2 separate regions of the Homo sapiens genome follow, and region 1 is linked to region 2. Evidence: promoter capture Hi-C in 16 types of primary human blood cells and fetal thymus (Javierre and others, 2016). All regions are on one chromosome and are shown on one strand. Each heading gives the region's core, a stretch centred on a gene start or on the middle of the fragment in contact. The rest is flanking DNA. Distances are from core to core; before and after follow the strand shown.

Evidence for each region. The method cuts DNA at HindIII sites, captures the fragments that hold promoters and counts their contacts. A CHiCAGO score of 5 or more calls a contact.
Region 1: a fragment that was not itself captured here is called in contact with the fragment with the promoter of RPS13 in region 2 in 1 of 17 cell types (total CD8 T cells); the score reaches 5.1 in total CD8 T cells.

The regions. Positions count from the first base shown.
Region 1 is chr11:19,118,814-19,123,137 of GRCh38, reverse strand. The region is part of intron 1 of ZDHHC13 (zDHHC palmitoyltransferase 13); the gene reads right to left. Among named protein-coding and RNA genes, the nearest start is that of ZDHHC13, 3.8 kb to the right of the region's middle. The HindIII fragment of the contact is 726 bases long and covers 1,458-2,183 here.
Region 2 is chr11:17,076,021-17,080,733 of GRCh38, reverse strand. RPS13 (ribosomal protein S13) reads left to right here and starts at 3,067. Exons shown (of 6, transcript NM_001017.3): 1 at 3,067-3,115; 2 at 3,257-3,305; 3 at 3,488-3,566. The coding sequence starts at 3,093. RefSeq lists an enhancer at 2,834-3,033. The HindIII fragment of the contact is 8,959 bases long and covers 2,266-4,713 here.

The DNA of each region.
Region 1 (4,324 bases), core at 571-3,070, 2.0 Mb before region 2:
ATGATGTACAATTACGCTAAGGGCATATAAGACATGGGTGTCTATCCTCCAGGAATTTAAGTCTAATAAGGGAGATATGTCAGAGACAGAGTGAAATAATAATAGCAGGCAATATGTGATTATATATGATTAAATGGCAACTTTAAGAAACTAGAAAACAGAAGATATCTTCCGTTCATGTCATCATTGTTTACCCGCATGCAGATCAAAGTAAAACCTAAAAATGACTATATTCAAAGCTTGTGTTTGAAGTCAATCATCTACAAAGTGAGGAAAGTACACTCAAAGCCATATATGCAGTGACCCACTAGGTAATGTGAGAAAATGTTAAAGCTTCTATTATAATAATTTTTTATCTTTTTACTTAAAAAGGAAAAATAAAATTTACAAATTTGAGTTTTTAAAGCTTTACCAAATTTATTTTTTCTTTTTAGCACACCTCTGCTGGCAGGAAAGCTTTACTAATTTTTAACGATGGCAGTCTCATTTATTGATATGCCAAGCAGGTCACTCCTTATACTCTGTTTACAAGGTAACCTAAGGGCAGAGAAAGCTTCCACAAACAGAGAGTTGACAGTAGGACCTTCAGCATTTTACAATATATATTAGATTATTTTCAAATTATATTGTTAAATTTTAACTAAATTACCTCTCCCAAAATGAGCAAGTAGCTTAAGCTGATTTCTACAAAGAAGCCATGAATTGAGGTAATAATAATAATAATAATAAGCACAAGCAAATAAGAAAATAGCAGATCAGGAACTCTTTATCAGACACATGAAGTATAAACAAAGATGATCTAATCCAATCTGACAAGTCAGTACCCCCTTGGAAAAAATTCAAAATTGTCAAGAGGCTAAATTGAGGCAGATTTATAACCACCATCTTTAATTCAAATCTTGCCATGAACATATACTGAGCTATTAGTTAATGAATATAATTTAGAAATACATGTCAAATCCTACAATAACATGACCCACGACAATATGAAATTGGCCGCCAGCTCCTATCCCCATGTTCAAACAGAAGAGAGCTGAAATTTTTATTTTCTGTGAAGTTTTCTGTGAAGCAAGGTCAGGAAAAGGAGGGCAAGGACACAACAGAGAAGAAGACAGGTAACCTTGAGTCTCAAAAGATAGGGAAGAAGACACATTGAGTCCCTGCTTCCACAGTATTCTCTCAGCCTAATCTCTCCTGATTGCACTGATGACACGGGCCAAATAACCAAATTCCTGGTACTGCCACATTGACTGTATGATAGTGGTGAATCATCTACTCTATTTTTGGCTCATTTCTACGTTGGTAAAGTGAAAGGGACATATCAATACACCCATAAAGCTCCTTCTAAGTCTCATGTTGCATGGTCCTAAGGTGAGCTATTACAATAGTCACTATTGACTTGTGAACTGGTAAAGAATTTACTGTATGAACAAACACACTACATGGATAAAGAAGCTTAACTGCTACATGGCTGCCTACAATGTTAAGGTAACAGAACAGACTAAGCAAATTCTCATGATGCCAGCCAACTCCCAAGAGTTTTCATCAATTATTCATTCAGGGAAATATAAAGAACACCTATACAAATCACAGAAGTAGGTAATCAGGGATAAAAGATGAATAAGACACAGTTCCTTCCATAATACATTCATTCTAGACATTTACTGAATGCCTACTACGTGCTGGGCACTATTGTAGACACAGCAACATGGCAATGAACAACAGACAAGGTCCTTGGTTTTCAAGGAACTTATATTCTAGTTAGGGATATACTCCCTTCCCCATTTTCAGAGCAGAGTAAAATACAGACTACTCCTCAGACCTTGACCTAAAGAATGGGTGGACTCCAAGTGGCAGCAAACAATCAAACAAGATCGTATCATGACTGGACCACCTGACTAGCAATGAAAATGCACTGCATCAGGAGCCCTGACACCTGGGCTCTGCTAACTTGCCATGAACCTTTGGAAAGTAAGTTATTATTTTTGCGTCTTGAATTCATGGGAAAAGTTAAAGGGCTAGACTAGATAAATGGTTCTCAAACCTTCCAAATGTCATGGACCTTTTTGAAAATGTTACCAAAATTAAGGCCTCTCTACTTAAGAGAAATGCACAACTGCACATGTAAACTAACTTTTCAAGATGTTCACTAATTTCAAGATGTTCACTAACGCCCTGAAGCTTATCCTATATGCCAGTTTAAGAATCTCTCAACTAGGTAATTCACTGAAAAGCCTTCCAGCTCCAAGTATTCTATGATTCTATTCCATTTTACTTCCTCTCGTCTTCCTAGGATTCCAGTCTACAACCACCTCAAGATACTAGAATAAAATGGTTTTTTTGTTGTTTTTGTTTTAATTAAGATACAAAGGGAAAAAAAATTTAAAGAGGGAAAAAAGAGAGATACCAAGAAAGAAATATGTAGCTAGCTCACTGTCCTCCACAGAAGAGTGAAAAGCAGAACAAGATATTATGAAAATTATCTAACAGACATATGAATACATGTGTGGTAATTTTTACAACATAGCCTCAAAATTATTTGCTACTTCTCCATCAAGAGGTAAAGGTCTATGTCCCTTCCTCTTGACTCTGAGCTTTGTGACTACCTCACAAATAATATATTTCAGAAGTGATGCTGTGCCAGTTTGCAGGCTCAGGCCCTAGAAACTGGCAGCTTCTTCTTCCTGGCTCTTTCATTAGATGGTCACTAATGGAACTCAGCCACTATACTGTGCAGAGGCCCAGGTCACGTGTAGGTGTCTCTACTGAAAGTTAACTGCCAGATGTAAGTGAAGACACTCATAGATACTGGCCCCAGCTCTCAATTCATCTCCAGCTTATGAGTCTTTGCAGCTGAGGCTCTAGACATGGTGGAACAGAAACAAACCAACCCTGCTGCAGTCTCTCCAAGTCCCTGACACACAGAGTCCATGAGCATGACAAAGCCATGTTTTATACCACTATGTTTTGAGGTGGTTTCTTACACAATAAATAACTAGGGCATCTTTAAGCTCTGAGGGATCATGTAATACTTCTCACACAGAGATGTCATGAATGAGATTATTTTTCTAAATTGTATATAAGAATTGTTAAAGTTACAGTGGGCATTAATTTAAGCCAAAATCAAGATTTAGAAAACCACACTTAAACTCCAATGACAGGCATTATCCTGCCAGATTATCGAATAAAAAGAGAGTGAGAGAGAAGGAGCGAGTGAGAGAGAAATATGTGACACTCATTAAAAGTTCTCATGTCATTAAAGTTCTCATTAACAGAAGTACCAGAGTTTAGTTTCCAAGTTCATTCATTGACAAGTATTTACAGAGTACTCACCAGTGCTAGGCATTGTTCCAGATGCCAGGCACACAGCAGTGAACATAACAGACAAAAATCACTGTCCCTATAGTACTAACATTCAGTGGAGGAGAAAGAAACAATAAACAAGACCAATAAGTACGTTAAATGGTGTTAAATGCTGAGGAGAAATCTAAAGCAAGGAAGGAGGCCAGGGAGTGTTGCTGGTAGTGCTGATGATGGAAAAGGCTTGCAATTTTAAATACGGGGGTCACAGAATGCCACACAGAGGTGACATTTGTGTCAAGACTTTAAAGAGGTGGGGGAATAAGCCAAGTGGGCACACAAGGAAAGAGCATTCCAGAAGTAAGTATGAAAGACTCTGAGGCTGGTGTGGCTGGGGATGACCGGGCAAGCAAGACAGTAAAAGATGAGGTCAGGCTGGGAGCGGTGGCTCACGCCTGTAATGCCAGCATTTTGGGAGGCCGAGGCGGGCGGATCACAAGGTCAGGAGATCGAGACCATCCTGGCCAACATGGTGAAACCCCATCTTACTATACAAAAAATTAGCAGGGTGTGGTGGTCCGCACCTATAGTTCCAGCTACTCGGCAGGCTGAGGCAGGGGAATCATATGAACCCGGGAGGCGGAGATTGCAGTGAGCCGAGATCGCGCCACTGCACTCCAGCCTGGCAACAGAGCAAGACTCTGTCTGAAAAAAGAAAAAAAAGATGAGGTCAGAAAGGAAACTGCAGACCTGATTGTATAGGCAAATCCTGGCAAAAATCCAACAGCACCGATCTTGGAATCAAAAGAACCAAATTCAATGAGAGCAGTAATGTTTTTGTCTGTTTTGTTCACTAATTTATCACAGCACCTAAAACGGTGCCTGGCAGACATTCAAAACACATTTGCTGAATGAACGACTGAAGTCTTGGCTCTATCACTTAGCAGCTATTTGACTTGTAGCAAGTGATTCCAGTTTTCTGAGCCTCTGTTCTCATTTCTAAAATCAGAATAATCATTTCTCC
Region 2 (4,713 bases), core at 1,818-4,317:
AAACAAAAATCTTCATGTATAACTAACTGACAACCCAAATTACACACAGACATCCTGTAATCTGGGACTAGATTGCTAAATCTACTATTCCCATCATCTTCCTGAAATAAAGTCTACAATCTAGACATCTACAAAGGGGGAAAAATGACATTATTTAGGTTCATTCTTTCAAATAATTACTGAGTACCTAACTTCCCGCCAGGCACTCTTGTGGGTGTTGGAGATAAAGCAATAAACGTTGTACTCTCAGAGCTAATTTTTATTGGAGGTGGACAGGCAACCAAACAAGCAACTAGAAAGGATGTTAGAGATTTGGGTGCTTTGAAAGTAATCAATAGGATATTGTGTTGGGAAGAAGGACTACTTTAGATGATCCTATTTAGGGAAAGCCACCCTGAGATGACATGGAGGCCAGGATGTGAAAGTGAGACCTGAAAAGGTCTTGAGGAAGAGCAAGCACTTCAGGCAGTGCCAACAGCAAGAGGAAGGGCTCTAAGCAGGAAAGGAACACATTGCTACCTTGTAGAGTCAGAAAGGAGTAAGTGCGGTTAGAGCGTTTAGAATCGGGGGATAGTGGCAAGACGTGGGTCCAGGGATTGGATCTTAGGTGCATTGAGAAAGTATGGGAGGGATTTACACAGGGGAGCAATGAATTAATCTGCTTTATGTATTTAATGGATCACTCTGACTGCTAGGTGGAGAGTGGGTTGTGTTTAGAGTGGGGACGTGACCAGACGGTGTGGATACTACAGAGTTGCCCAGATAGGAGGTGATGGTGGCTGGGACTGAAGGTGGAAATGGGGCAAAGGGAACATATTCATGATACATTCTTGTGGTAGAGCTGGGATGACAGAGGGAAATCAGAGAAAAACGGAGATGCCTAGGTTTGTATTAAGTTTGAGCAAACAGGATCGTGTTTAACTGAAACAAAGGGGCATGGTTTGGGAATTGGAGTCATATTAAATTTGAGATACCTATTCCATATCTGAACTAAAAATGTAAAATTGGCTAATGATAAACTTTGCTAGAAAAAAACATTACCCAAATAGGGTACCCGATTTGACTAAAATTCCTAATGCTTTGGGAAAAGTTATTAATCAAATAGTGACAGATTATGGCTTTTTTGGGGGGGAGGGGTGTTGTTTTCTTGGAGAACTGACCCGTTTGTTGTTATAAAGGGTTCTCTCTTTATCCCTGATACTTTTTTTTTGAGACGGAGTCTCGCTCTGCCACCTAGGCTGGAGTGCAGTGGTGCGATCGTGGCTTACTGCAAGCTCCGCCTCCCGGGTTCACGCCATTCTCCTGCCTCAGCCTCCTGAGTAGCTGGGACTACAGGCGCCCGCCACCACGCCCGTCTAATTTTTTTGTATTTTTAGTAGAGACGGGGTTTCACCGTGTTAGCCAGGATGGTCTCGATCTCTTGATCTCGTGATCCGCCCGCCTCAGCCTCCCAAAGTGCTGGGATTACAGGCGTGAGCCACCGCGCCCGGCTATCCCTGATAACTTTATTTCAAATAGTGACAGGTTAAAAGTTAAGAGCGGATGTTTCAGTATCTAGTTTCCCAGCGTCTTGCCAGTTACTTTAAGCTTGTCGACAGGAGTTTGATTTCACTGACCTCCCTCCTTCCTAGAGCTATGCTTACTTTTTAAAATTTTAAGAAGCTGCTTCATTTGCCCATTCTTTCAACGCATTGTTGTGTACCGGCACTGAGTCAGTCTTTTTCTTTCTTTCCTTTTTTTTTTTTTTTTTTAAGACAGAGTCTTGCTCTGTTGCCCAGGCTGGCGCGCAGTGGTGCTATCTCGGCTCACCGCAATGTCCTTCCCGGCTCCAGAGATTCTCCACCTCAGCCTCCTTCGTAGCTGGAACCAAAGGCACGAGCGAGCACGCCCGGCTAATTCTTTGTATTTATAGAGAGGGGGTTTCGCCATGTTGCCCAGGCTAGGTCTGTCTTAAAAGAGCTTCTTCCGGCCAGGCGCGGTGGCTCACGCCTGTAATCCCAGCACTTTGGGAGGCCGAGGCGGGCGGATCACCTGAGGTCGGGAATTTAAGACCAGCCTGACCAACATGGAAAAACCCGTCTCTACTAAAAATACAAAATTAGCTGGAAGTGGTGGCGCATGCCTGTGATCCCAGCTATTCAGGAGGCTGAGGCAGGAGAATCGCTTGAAGCCGGGAGGCGGAGGGTGCGGCAAGCCGAGATCGCGCCATTGCACTCCAGCCTGCGAATCAAGAGCGAAACTCCGTCTCAAAAAAAAAAAAAAGCTTCTTCCTTGACGGTTCCCTTTTCCCATGAAATTCAAATGCTTCATTTTATCCCTCATCCTCTTGGCCTTTGCAGTCTTGCTCCCAAGGCTCTTCCCTGCCCGCCAACTCTCTCACTTGGGAACATAGCTCCGTAAGCCTCTGCCCAACCCTTCTCCCCGGCGAGCCCAGCGCCCCAGAGCCCTGCGCAGGGGAATTCGAGTGCGGAGGGCGGCAGGCATCCGTGGGGACCTGGTTCAACTCCTTAGACCGGTTCTTCACCGTCAGCGACTCTCCCCTGACAGATTAGGGTAGGATTTAGAAATGAGAAATGGAAGCGCTGGCTGGGCGGTAGCCGCTGCCATGGCTTCCCGTGTGGTCCTCATCACATGCTATTGTATCTGTTAATTTATTAGGCGCAGGGCCGACTCTGAGGGATCTAGTGCCAGGACAAAGCCAGGCACTGGTGAATGAGCAAACACCTGTGTATGGCTGCTTCTTCCAGCCCTACCTGCTCCATACCCACCCCCAGCGCAGCATTCGAATCTTTGTGATCTCGGCGTCCACAGGGAATTTCGACGCAAGCTGGCGTCAGCCTCAAATTCCCGCTCTGGCAACAAGGCTGACCAAAGACCGATGCATGCCGGGATGAGGCTGGATTGACGATCTCTTGCGACGCTGAAATGCATTTCGGGAGATGTAGTCACACAGACGGGCGGTGGCTGCGCAGCGTAGCTCCGCCTCCTGCGTGAGAGGAAGCGGGGACGTGTGAGGTCACTTCCTGCGTGTTGGGTGGCTTCCTGCGGCGTTTCCACTCTCGCTCTCCTTTCGTTGCCTGATCGCCGCCATCATGGGTCGCATGCATGCTCCCGGGTGAGCTCGGGGCATCAAGCCGGATTGCTGGGCGGGGGGTGGGAGGAAGACAGGGAGTGTGGGCAGCGGGCCGAGGGGATGATGTTCTGGGCTGCTCTGGCACTAGCCGCCACCTCACCTCGAGACTGCTTCTCTCCCCAGGAAGGGCCTGTCCCAGTCGGCTTTACCCTATCGACGCAGCGTCCCCACTGTAAGTAGCGCGCTGGGACCGGGGAGAATCCGGGGAGGGGGTTGGCATTTGTCTCGGGTGAAGCGACGCCAGGGTGAGGAACTTGCGTGTATGAGGAGCGCGGTTTTGCGGAAGGAGAGACCGCTGTTCTGCGGCGCCATTCCTGGGTTCTCATCCTAAGGCTGCTTTCTATTCCATAACAGTGGTTGAAGTTGACATCTGACGACGTGAAGGAGCAGATTTACAAACTGGCCAAGAAGGGCCTTACTCCTTCACAGATCGGTGAGTGTTTGTGTCTAACATAGCCTATTTCGCCTGTCCTCGTGTGACTTGTAGGATCTAGTAGGTGGTAAAGTTATTTTAAAAATAGCCAAAACTCTGGTCTCGCCACCGTGCTAGAGGCATCATTGTAAGCACTTCACATGTACTGATTTCGTTTAATTCTGACCACAATACTTTGAAATAAATCTTCATGGCTTTCACCCCAGTTTACAGTTGAGGAAGCAGAGGCACACTGCCGCTGGATACTAACCAGCCCCAAATCACACAGCTGTCAAGTGGAGGAGTTGGAATTGGCTAAGCAGAGTGCCTGACACAGTTCCTCACAGTTAGGTGTGGTTTGAATCTCAGCTGCGTGTGACTTCGTGCAAGTGGCTTCATTCAGCAAATGTTTACCTTCTATGTGCTGAACATGGTTCTGGGGCCTGAGAACATACTACTCTCCGACTCCCCCGCCCAAAAAAGCCAGCCGCAATGTGCCTGTAGTCCCAGATACTTGGGATGCAGAGGTGAGAGGATCACCAGAGCCTAGAAGTCCCAGGCTGCAGTGAGCTATGATGAAGCCACTGCACTCCTGGGTGACAGAGAGACCCCACCTCTTTTTTTTTTTTTTTTTGAGACAGTCTTGCTCTTGTCGCCCAGTCTGGAGTGCAGTGGCGCGATCTCAGCTCACTGCAACCTCCACCTCCTGGATTCAAGCGATTCTCCTGCCTCAGCCTCCCGAATAGGTGGGATTACAGGCGCCCGCCAGCAGGCCCAGCTAATTTGTGTGTTTTTGTTTGAGACCGATTCTCACTTTGTCACCCAGGCTGGAGTGCAGTGGTATGATCTCGGCTCACTGCAACCTCCGCCTCCTGGGTTCAAGCAAGCAATTCTCCTGCCTCTGCCTCTGGAGTAGCTGAGACTACAGGCCGCACCACCACGCCCGGCTAATTTTTGTATTTTTAGTAGAGACGAGGTTTCACCATGTTGGCCAGGCTGGTCTCAGACTCCTGACCTCAGATGATCCACTGCCTCGGCCTCCCAAAGTGCTGGGATTACAGGCGTGAGCCACACCACCTGATCCCACCTCTTAAAAGGGGGAGGGGGGTGCAAAATATCTGTACTCCTGGAGCTTGTAGTCTAATTGGAGGTATGACACATCAAAAGA